Regions from separate parts of the Homo sapiens genome. Here all the other regions are linked to region 3. Evidence: promoter capture Hi-C in 16 types of primary human blood cells and fetal thymus (Javierre and others, 2016). All regions are on one chromosome and are shown on one strand. The core of a region is centred on a gene start or on the middle of the fragment in contact, and the rest is flanking DNA. Distances in the headings are between cores, read along the strand shown.

Region 1 (3,473 bases), core at 242-2,741, 770 kb after region 3:
ATTGAGCAATTACTAAATATCAGGCACATACTAAGTGCCAAATGTATATATTATCTCACTTAATCCTCTTGGTAACTCTTTGAGGTATTTTCATTAACCCCTTTTTACAGGTGAGGAATCTGAAAGTCAGAGAGATAAAGAAACTTGTCAAAGTTTGTTAGAGCTAATACACAGAACCAGGTTTTGAACTCTGGAATGTCTAGTTCCAAAGGCTTATCACTTAACCACTATCTCCCCATTGCCTTAGGTAATATATTAGCCAAAAGAAGAGCTACTTATTGAGATACTTATCCCTGGTTGGTAACATGGTAACACATCATTTACAGTGTACAAGATGTGTAGCCACTAACAACAACCCTTGAGGCAGGTGTTTATTAACTCTTCTATTCTAGAGCTGAGTAAATTGAGACTTAAGGAAATTAAGGGACTTACCTAAAGTCATACTGCTAGCATGAGGCAGGATGAAGACCAGAAGTCAGGAACAACTCCTCTGCTGTTGCAACTGTACCACTCTGTACTACAAAGAGGTAGAAGGAGAAGTGATGGGAGGTTTGTCTTTCAAAACACGTGCACATGCACTCCACAAGTAAGGAGGTACTAGTACTTCTCTTTGTGTTAATAAAAATAATAATTTGAATTAAAATGCCTCTCAATTTTAATTTTACAAAAATTCAGCAGCAATTAAAACAATTCATTAGCCTAACAATAAATACCAACAGAATCACATATTTAGAGTCCTCATAAAATATTAAGGTATTACTGATTATAAAAAACATATTTTTCTTGGTTTCTGTATTTAATAGCCTTTCAAGGGCTGGAGATTGTTTAGAATTACAGATAATGATTTTAAATCTTTTTCACTGTAGGAAAACATAGCAAGATAAAACGAGGAACTCATTATCTACCTGTTTTAATATGAAAGCGGGTAAATTTTCCAAAATGAATTGTTAATGAAAACTCTGAACAGATAATAAACCACGAAGAGACCTTTCAATCCCGTTAATTCTTGAAGTTGAAATTTTTAAATTTAAAATGGAGAGGAAAGAGTAAAAAACTCTATCCCTCTGAAGGATGTTTAGAGGATATAATTCAAAAATTCGGTGCCAACAACAATTTATACACAGCATGAAGAACAATGAATTCCACTTCTGTGGTTGTATCTGGAGAATAAAACAAGTCAAAAGGAAAAATTCCAAAGAAGGTTTAAATTTATTCTCCAACCTCAGAGCCTAGTTCGAGTTCGCCTGTGTGGTTTTATTGCTTAGTTCACACATAGGAATTAGCACTGGGGATCCTAAAAGCCTGTTTAAAAAAAAAAATCTTTTGCTCCTGGTGTTGATACAAGAAAACACTCTTTCTTAAATTCAGTATGTGATTATTTGCTTCCTCATAAGTTCAAAATGCGTGAAAAGAGAGAGGGGAGTGTCTTTAAAAAAGAACATCCTTCCACCACATTTTAAAACATTGCTCTTTTGTCAATGACAGGCAATTGGGGGCTTCTAAAAACAAAGGAACATAGTGGTATCTTTCAAATTAGTCAAGAGGGAATTTAGTGTCAAGTTATGTTCATAACCAGATTACCCATGGAGTTGCTTTCTGTAGTTACTTCTTTATAGGGAATATATATAACTTAAATTTTAAATCACCAAGATTTAACATTGATCTTTACTACAGTAAAATCCCACTGTGGGGGAAGGAGGGGGAAACTCTTACCATGGCATTCCTTCAGGAATAACTTTTTATAGTTGCAACCAGATAAAATATGATTTGCCTATAAGATGAAAGCTACTACTATATTTTACCATCTGCATTATATATTACTGTGAAATTATATTAAAGTTATATTGAAATAAGTGCTAGAAGAAGACCAATTGTCTAACCAAAGAAAACATTCAGAAATCTAATAGTTTCAGAAAGGAGAAATGTAAGGTACAAAATGTATATTTTGCCGAAGTCGTATAACAGAATGATCAAGGAAAGACCATCTAAATTGCCTAGGAGTCTAGGCGTTCACAGTCATGTGTTAAACTCCAAGATAGGTGGAATCTCACCATCCTGACATAACCACATGAACCACTTGTAAATATACCATTTACATTAGCATTTGAACTTTATCTGATACCTTTCCACACTTCAGAGGCCACTGCCAATCAAACTAGTTTTTTAAAATGCATTAGCTCTTTTTGTCTTGGTCAAGCTAATCAAAGTTTTTGTAATTTTGCACTTGGTAGCATCCACAATGTGGCACAAGTTTGAGATAAGAAAAATCTTAGAATTCTTTCGTTTGCTTCTTGAAACAGACACCAGATCCCTAATCTGTGTTTTCATTCAAGTTTGCTCATTTCCACTTATTTTATCTTAATATCTTTTTATATTTTGTAGATGCAAATTTTCTTCTTGATTCAACATTGTCAAGAAAATGTACCTTATATATGAGGATTTCAAAGCTATCTTCTAAACTGTAAAGTAATATTTACATTCCCCAAAATTTGCCATCCCAAAAGATTTTTAATTACAAAGTTTAAAAAAACAAGATGCACCAATTTTCCCACTTTAAATATTTTCAATGACCTAATTTTTAAATGATTTTTTAAAAACCAAACAGGTCCCTTTTGGGTAACCCTCATATCACCACCTACTTTGGGGTAGATGTAATGAAGCTGAGATATTGGGGTACAACATCTGGCAAGGACTTGTGAATTACAATTTTCTTTTACAACTGAAAACCATATCCTGGTCAGGTCTCAGTGGGGTTTAATGCTGTCAGAGCACACAAGGTTTGTTTTGATCTGTTATGGAGGAACACACATAGCTTTCAGTTCGCACTAATAACATCCCTGTGTCTGGTATACACCAATCCAGAGGCTACTAATTAAAGATTGGAATTAACCAAACACAGTTTCACTACAAAACATGTGAAACTTATTAAAACTTAAAAGTAACTGCTGATTCTCAATACAGGCAAAACTAAAGAATGTAGGAGTCTTGTGGGTTACTTAAGCAAAAAATTTTAAAGCACACTCAAGATGCCTCAGGTCTGCACACTCAGTACCCAATGTGTCAACATAATAGAAAAAAGTGCAAAACTTTTAAGATTACTGAAACCAAGAGATGAAAAGAATTTAACAGGTAAGCAGCCCATTTCCTTCACCAGGGTTAACTTCCACTCTGAGTCTTTGGTCTAACAAATACTTATATTTGCAGTTGTTGGAACAATTACCTTACCATTTTCTCACCAGAAAATTGTTTGTTGATCTGGTAACAAAAGGGGAGTTGGGACCAGTGGAAGACGGCCAGAGGTGGTGAGTTTCAGCAGCCAATTACATAATTCAAAATAAGACTACAAATTTTGTTTATTTTTAAAATTTTTATCTATGTGTAATACACAAACAGAATAGTGCATATTTCATGAGTAGACACCTTATTGAATTTTCACAAACTGAATCTATCCATGTAAGCAGCACCTAGACCAT
Region 2 (3,649 bases), core at 940-3,439, 830 kb after region 3:
GTTAGGAGTTCGAGACCAGCCTGACCAACATGGCAAAACCCCATCTCTACTAAAAATACAAAAAAAATTAGCCGGGCTTGGTGCCACATGCCTGTAGTCCCAGCTACTCAGGAGGCTGAGGCAGGAGAATTGCTTGAACCCAGGATCCAGAGGTTGCAGTGAGCTGAGATTGCACCACTGCACTCCAGCTTGGGTGACAGAGCAAGACTCCATCTCAAAAATAATAATAATAATAATAATAATAATAATAATAATAATAATAGATGTCACAAGTCAGCATAAGTAAAGCATTGAGGGTCTCTGTGCATCTCCCACCACCAACTCTCCAAATGAAAAAAGCTATTTGTATCAGTTGAAAAGTATTGAAAACACCTGAAATCTGCTACCAAAAATGTGAATGCTATGTCATAATTGTTTACCAAGAGTTTTTTTAAATCATTCTTTTTTTACAAAAAAAGTAAAAATTTATCATTATCACATTCATACAGCCTGTGAATCTCCCTTTGCTCCTTCCTGCTCCCAGCCCCTTATGTTTTTGTCACTTGTTATATGACATTGAGGTAGACCAACAAAAAAAGAGTTCTCAGAATGGGAAATTTGAGTGAGCTGGCACTGTGGGCCTCAAAATCATCTCAGAGGAATAATCAGAAGAATATATATCTGTCCATTGACAGATAACCTGATACACAATGTGTGATATATGCATACAATGAGATATTCCTTGGCCTTAAAAAGGAATGAAGTACTGATGCATACTACAAGATGGATAATAGAGAACCTTGAAAACGTGATGCTGAGTGAAAGAAGCCAGACACACAAGGACAAATATTCCATGATTCCCTTTATATGAGGTATCTAGAGTAGTCAAATTCAGAGAGAGCAAGCAGAATAGTGGAGACTAGGGGTGGAGGGAGGGGAGAATGGGGGGTAATTGTTTAATGGGTGCAGAGTTTCTGTTTGAAATGATAAAAAATTCTGGAAACAGTAGTGACAGTGGTGATGATTGCACCACGCTGTGAAGGTACTTAATGCCACTGAATTGCACACTTAGAAATCGTTAAAAAGATAAATGTTTATGTTTGTATATTTTACCACAATAAAATATCTACTGTTTTCTCTCAGGAAAAAGCAGTAGAAGCCAAGATGCCCTGGCAGTGACAGCCATGGAGTGTGTGAGGAAAAGAGATTACAGAGCGTAAGTGGCATGGGTTTACCTAAGGCAGTTTCCTCCCAGGGCCGGTCAGTGTGTGTCAAACAAAAGGGACTGTCTAGCTAGAGATCACTTTAGAAGTGTCTGACCCATCTAAAGGCAACAATCTCATCAAAAAAACAAAGCAGAACACTGTACAAAGTCTCTCCAGGGCAAGGGTACCAATTTGTCACTCCTGGTATTAGACATCAATATAATGTTAGACCTGCCAGATTGCAGTGGTTGTGAAATCAACTGGAAGTGAAGAAATGGAAGAGAGTATGCTAAGAAGCTTCAATTTGGTCTTGCAGCCATGGGAAGTTTCCTAGCAGGAGAATGACTTACTGAAAGGAATGTTTTAAAAGGCTTAAATTTTACAACCCTTCAAGGGTACCCCAGACAAGCACTCACTCACTCCTGGAAGGATTACTAATTGTTTCAGCCTTTCAGGAGAGCAGTTTGGCAATACAGATAAGGAGTCTTAAAGAAAAGTTCATACTCTTCTAGAACCCTTCCTCAAGAATATAATCAGATAAGGATTAGACTTACATGTAAGGTCATTAATATTACAGAGAAGTATTTTAATAGCAAAAATAAAAAGTTTTTTCAGAAAAAAATTAAATGTCCAAAAGTAGACAAATAAAAAAATATATAGTTTATCACAAGACAGAATGAGGGAACTTTTCAAACAACACTCTTAAAAAATTTCCAGCAGCATGGGAAAAAAATCCCCATGATATAAAGTTAAGAAAGCAGAATATAAAATTATACAGTATTAAGACAATTATGAAAATATACACAGAGCTACACATTCTCTGGGTGGTTGGATTATGAATTATTTATTTCATTTATACTTTCTTGGGTTTTAAAATTTTCTCCAACATACATGTGTTACTTTTATGAGAAAAAACAACAAAAGTTATGGAAAGAAAAAGAAGTTGACAACCACACAAGATGAATTAGAAGGGAAAGAGTAGAGACAAAAACAAAAAAAATCTGGCCTTTGATGGAGGGCATGGGGGAGGGGGGAAGTTTGTTACTGCTGTTTTGTTTTGTTTCAAGTAAAAGATGTTATACTACCTGTGGAACAAAGAGGCACAGCCACCAATGGGAAAGGATTGGTTATTAACTACGGCAGAAACAGACCTACAGAAAAGATCACTAGTCACACACCATAGCTTTATTTAACAACCCCTCTTTTATAGAAAAGAATACAATTAATTTTGACATTAGTCCAAATGTTATTATTTGTGTGGTTAATTGTCACCTATTTATGGTTTTGAAAAAGATTGGTCTGTGAATACAAAGACTCTTGGGCTCCTGGTCTCTGCCATGAACTACTAACCTCTTGGGGAAATTGGCCTCAGTTTCCTCATCTGTTAAGAAGCACAAGTTAAAATAGATGATCTCTAAAACGTTTTCCAGCCTTAAATGCTATGACTATTTTAGTCCATATTAATTTCCTATTAATGAAACCAACCTGTAAGTGTATTTTCAGCTAGACCACCCACCAAATCAAACTAAATTGGAATGTCTTTACATGTGCCAGTATTCTAGGTGCCATATTAAATTAAAACAGAGTTCTTTCTCCAGCATTTAACATTTTCAAAAATTGTTTGTAGACTTAAGGGAAAAGTGAGTTATGAGATTTGTGAAAAAAGCTCTACAATGGGACAATCTTTTTTTTTTTTTAAGTCCAAAGACTAAAAGAAGCTTAGTTGAGGTGGCAGATGGGGAACACACCTAAACATACAAACAACCTTTTGGTACCACCTGCCTTGCATTGATACAGAGTGAGGGTAAGCTTGTCTATTTTTTTTTTTTTTAATACAACTGCCTTCCAATAAGAAACTTGGAGGGATTCTCCAAATATAAAATGCAACAGGATGGAAACATAAAACCAGATCCAACTCACCTGAATTTTCAAATAAAGAACAAAAGCCTTCATTTAACAAACAGAAAATATTTTATTTTTTTACTTTTCATTTTTCTTTTCAGTAGTGGTACTTCTTGCTATAGAAAATATTTTAAAGCAGCAGTCTGCAAACTTTTTCTTAAAAGGCCAAATTTTAATTTAGGCTTTGCTGATTATACAAGAATCTCTGTCACAACTATTCAGTTCTGCCTTTGTAGCACAAATTATTCACAGACAATTCATGGACATGTGGACATGGCTTTGTGCCAATAAAACTTTTTTACAAAAACAAAGGGCCAGCCCATTTGCATACTATCTTAGTCTATTTTCTGTTGCTATAACAGAATACCTGAGACTGGATAATTTATAAAGAAAAGTGATTTACTTAGCTCAGAGTTCTGGAGGCTGGAAAGTCCAAGATCAGGTTAGCGCATCTGGTGAGGGCCTCTTGCTGCTCCATAGCATGGCAGAAAAGAGGACGGGCAAGTGAGCCTGTGTACAAAGAGGTGGGCTAGCTTTATAACAACCTGCTTTTGCAGTAATTA
Region 3 (3,744 bases), core at 122-2,621:
TTGCCCATTTGCTATATGTAATTCACAGGATGTGGTGTTTTTCAGTACCAGATGTTTTGAGGGGAGCCACTTGCAATGGACTGTTTTTTGGTGTATGTGTTTTAATAGTTTGCCAGAACTGAGTTTGATTTGAAACAACGTTCTTGATTTTCAAATACAGCATTTTCAAACAAATAGTGTGATGTACAAATTACCATCACTTTAGTTCACGTTGAAATAATCCACACTCTAAATCTGTTTGACATTTACCCCTTAAGTATTTTGGATCAATAAATCATTTCTGTATCATCTAGCATCTTAAAATGTTCGTAAGTAACTACTTAATACCCTACATATCCAGGTCCTGTCCCATTAGTTTGAGGGAAAAAATATATTATAGTAATTAAGACATAATTATGTTGTCTTGAAAAGCTAAGGGTCATTTGGACTTGATTACCCAAGGAGTTATCAGTGCCAAGGAAAATTAGGCAACTACAGGCTTGGGCCTGTAATTAAACATCTAGGACTGACATTTTGTTCATCAGAGGTGGCACCTTCTGAATGAATTACACCATTTCATTTTAGACAAGCTACGGTACATACAAAACAAGTGTGTGGAGGGGGTTGGGGGGTGGACATGAATAGAGATTGGAGGTGGAGAGAAAGACCGGTGTAAACTTAAGCATTTTGTTGTGAAAAACTACTGTTCAGCCAGCCTGCCTGGGCTCCATATATGGTGTTCAAATATAAGTTTGGGACGAGCACCTTTGCAATTTTGGCCAAGAACACACACACACTCACCCTCCTCTGCTAGAGAGGGCCCGCTCACCTGGAACGCAGGCGGCTGGTTCTCCGTATTACAGTGAGTGCTCGTTCTGTATGTATAGGATGGCCAAGTAACTAACTGGCAGCCCTGCTCCTGCCTCACTCTCCCACAACTTTTTATCCCCTCACCACCAACGCTCTCAACAACCCCTGACACGTCTTCCCACAGGTCCCTGGCTCGCTGTCCGGTCTCTTCGTGTTGGTTTGTCCGTTTCCCACTCCTTCAGCGGTCTCAGGTGGAACACGCCAGGTGGGCGCTTGGCTGTGTTCTGGGGTCCCGAGTTGGAAAGGGATGCCCCCAGGCAGAAGGCGGCCGGCAGCCCTGGGGCAGAGGAGGACGAGGGGGAGGAGAGGAGCAGGAGGGCAGGGCAGAGAAGGAGGAGGAGGAGGACGGTGCAGAGGAGGAGGAGGAGGAGGAAGAGGACAGGGCAGAGGAGGAGGGAGTTGGCGGCCGCCGAGCCCCGGGCAGCGGGCCCCGTCCGCGGCCGGCGCGCTCCGTGGTCCTCCCTCGCTCGTCTCCTATGCTCATATTTGGACTCGGCTGCCCGTGCCCAGGAATTTCCCGTCATGCCTCCCGCCGCCCCGTCCGTCGCCCGGAGCCGGGGAGGGAGGGAGCGAGGTTCGGACACCGGCGGCGGCTGCCTGGCCTTTCCATGAGCCCGCGGCGGACCCTCCCGCGCCCCCTCTCGCTCTGCCTCTCCCTCTGCCTCTGCCTCTGCCTGGCCGCGGCTCTGGGAAGTGCGCAGTCCGGTAAGTTCGGGCTCCCCTCCCCTCTCCTCCTCGCCTCACCCCTCCCACCCCGACCCTGCCACGTTAGGGTGTGACCCCGAGCCGGGATTCCATTCTGCGCCTGCTGCGCCCCCTCGGCCACCTGCGGGGACAGCCCCTGCCTCAGCCGAGAAGGGGAGCAGAAGGGTTGCGCCCCGCGCCAGCGGTGAGGGGCCGAACGGAAGGAGGTCAGGGCTGGTTTCCCCCCACCCGCCGAAGGGAGGCGTCTGGCAGCCTCACTGACACCTTATCCTGTCCCGGGAGCGAACCTGAACCCGCGGGAGCCTCTCGCCCCGCGCGGGCCCAGGAGAGAGGGATCTGGCGGGGCAGCCCGCGGGAGGCAGGGGAGGGGTCCATCCCGGAGCCCTCTGCTCTGTGCGTCGACCCTGCCGGGGTTGCCGCTCAGATAACGGGCCCGAGGCGTGGGAACCGGCCCGCCAGGCCTGCGCTTTTCGCCGCGCGCCTCGGAGAGGACGGGGGTGCGGGGCGGCGGGCAGGCGGCAGGGAGGGGCGCACCCGGGAGCGCACCCGCCGCCCGCCCTCCCTGCGCTGCTGCCCCGCTGCTGGGCCAGACTCCAGCGGGCCCGCCTGGCATTTCACAGGCCAAAATCGAACAGAACCCCGAGTTTGCCAGGTATCAGTTTTGCTTTGTTTTTAAGCAGAAAAAGGCATCCAAGTCTATTTTTGAAGTTTTACACTGGGCTATTTCGAGTCAAACTATATGAATGAAAAGTGCTGTTCCTGCCTTATTTGGTTTAGGGCTAATAGCTATCGGAAGTGGCAGTTATGAAGTCGTTACAGTAAGACTTTATAAGATAATCTTCTTGAATCATGTGGGAACTGTTGGGGGGAATTTAATATCAGATTATTATTTTAAAAAGCAGTTATTTTAAAGTACAAAGGTAGGGATAAAGGTAAATGTGAAATTGCATGGACTTTTACGTTTGTGATGAGTAGTCGTCAAAGCTTCTTGCTTCTTAATTTTATCGGGAATGGAAGAATATAAATTATAATTCCTTAGAGCTGAGATTTCTTAGGAGATTTTAGTTTGCTTTTGTTTTTTCTACCAATAGACTAAATTGTCAAATAAGATATGGCAAACTAGGACTCATAAATTAGTTGAAACATGACTCTATGAAGCATAGATTATATTCAGTACTCTCTGGTTTATCTCTTCATATTTTCATTTGCAGCGCTGGTGGCAAGATCGATTTTCAAAAACAATTTTGTCTATAAAAAAACTTCAGGGTTCATATAACTTATAAAATTGTCAGTTCAGATTAATGGCAGATATTTACAATATTTAACTTTATTCAATTTGCAATTTGTAAATAGTAACTTGAGCAGTGATATCAGTTTCATGTTTCTTTCTGCATAGTATTGTTTTTCAAAAAAACCCTGTTTTTTATAGATTCATATTTTGGAAGTAACTTTAATAGCACTTCTTGGGAAATACAACAGGTTCTAATTTCACATTTTTCAATGGATTTCTAAAAAATACTGTGCTGGATAGTGAAGAGTGGATTTTATTGCCAGGAAACATATGTATGCTTTCTTTTTCCTCAGTGATGTGTTGACTTACCTAATACTTGTGGTGAAACGGCCTTCGAAGACCAGAATCCACTGTACTGGCCCCTTGCCAGTAATTTTGAACATCAAGTTTATATTTGGACCATTTAAACATATATTCTTTTAATTCCGGTCCCAGCTGATATATCAGTCTAATTTCTGATGACTTTTATTAGGGCCCTATATGAATATCTGGAAATTTTTATATTAAGATAAGTAGCTCTTTGCTACTTATCTAGAATTTTGTCACAGTGCTTAAACTGCTTGTATGGCAAGGTTGCAGCATACAATGTAATTTAGATTTTGAATCAACACACTGCTTTTTGTTTTTAAAAGTGCTTGTTCTAATATTTTAACTAAGATGTTAATCCATTAAGTCAGAAATCCTTGCTATTTTGCTCAACTCAAAAGAATATCCAAAGACTATCCCAACAGTAAGGTTCATCAGTTTTTCTAATACATATGCCATTTAATAATTAAAAATAGATTTTAAGGCCACGTGTGGTGGCTCATGCCTGTAATGCAACACTTTGGGAGGCCAGTGTGGGAGGATTGCTTGAACCCAGGAGTTCGAGACCGGCCTGGTCAACATAGGGATACCCT

Evidence for each region. Contacts are between HindIII fragments. The CHiCAGO score rates a contact against its expected background, and 5 or more counts as called.
Region 1: a fragment that was not itself captured here is called in contact with the fragment with the promoter of MSRB3 in region 3 in 1 of 17 cell types (M2 macrophages); the score reaches 5.1 in M2 macrophages.
Region 2: a fragment that was not itself captured here is called in contact with the fragment with the promoter of MSRB3 in region 3 in 4 of 17 cell types (erythroblasts, M2 macrophages, megakaryocytes and 1 more); the score reaches 9.1 in erythroblasts.

Annotation. Positions count from the first base shown.
Region 1 is chr12:66,050,347-66,053,819 of GRCh38, forward strand. No RefSeq gene overlaps it. Among named protein-coding and RNA genes, the nearest start is that of LINC02425, 21 kb to the left of the region's middle. The HindIII fragment of the contact is 6,832 bases long and covers 1-3,473 here.
Region 2 is chr12:66,110,321-66,113,969 of GRCh38, forward strand. No RefSeq gene overlaps it. Among named protein-coding and RNA genes, the nearest start is that of LLPH, 19 kb to the right of the region's middle. The HindIII fragment of the contact is 1,421 bases long and covers 1,480-2,900 here.
Region 3 is chr12:65,277,312-65,281,055 of GRCh38, forward strand. It overlaps MSRB3 (methionine sulfoxide reductase B3), which reads left to right and starts at 1,372. Exons shown (of 7, transcript NM_001031679.3): 1 at 1,372-1,554. RefSeq lists silencers at 1,582-1,711, 1,812-2,121. The HindIII fragment of the contact is 13,781 bases long and covers 1-2,536 here.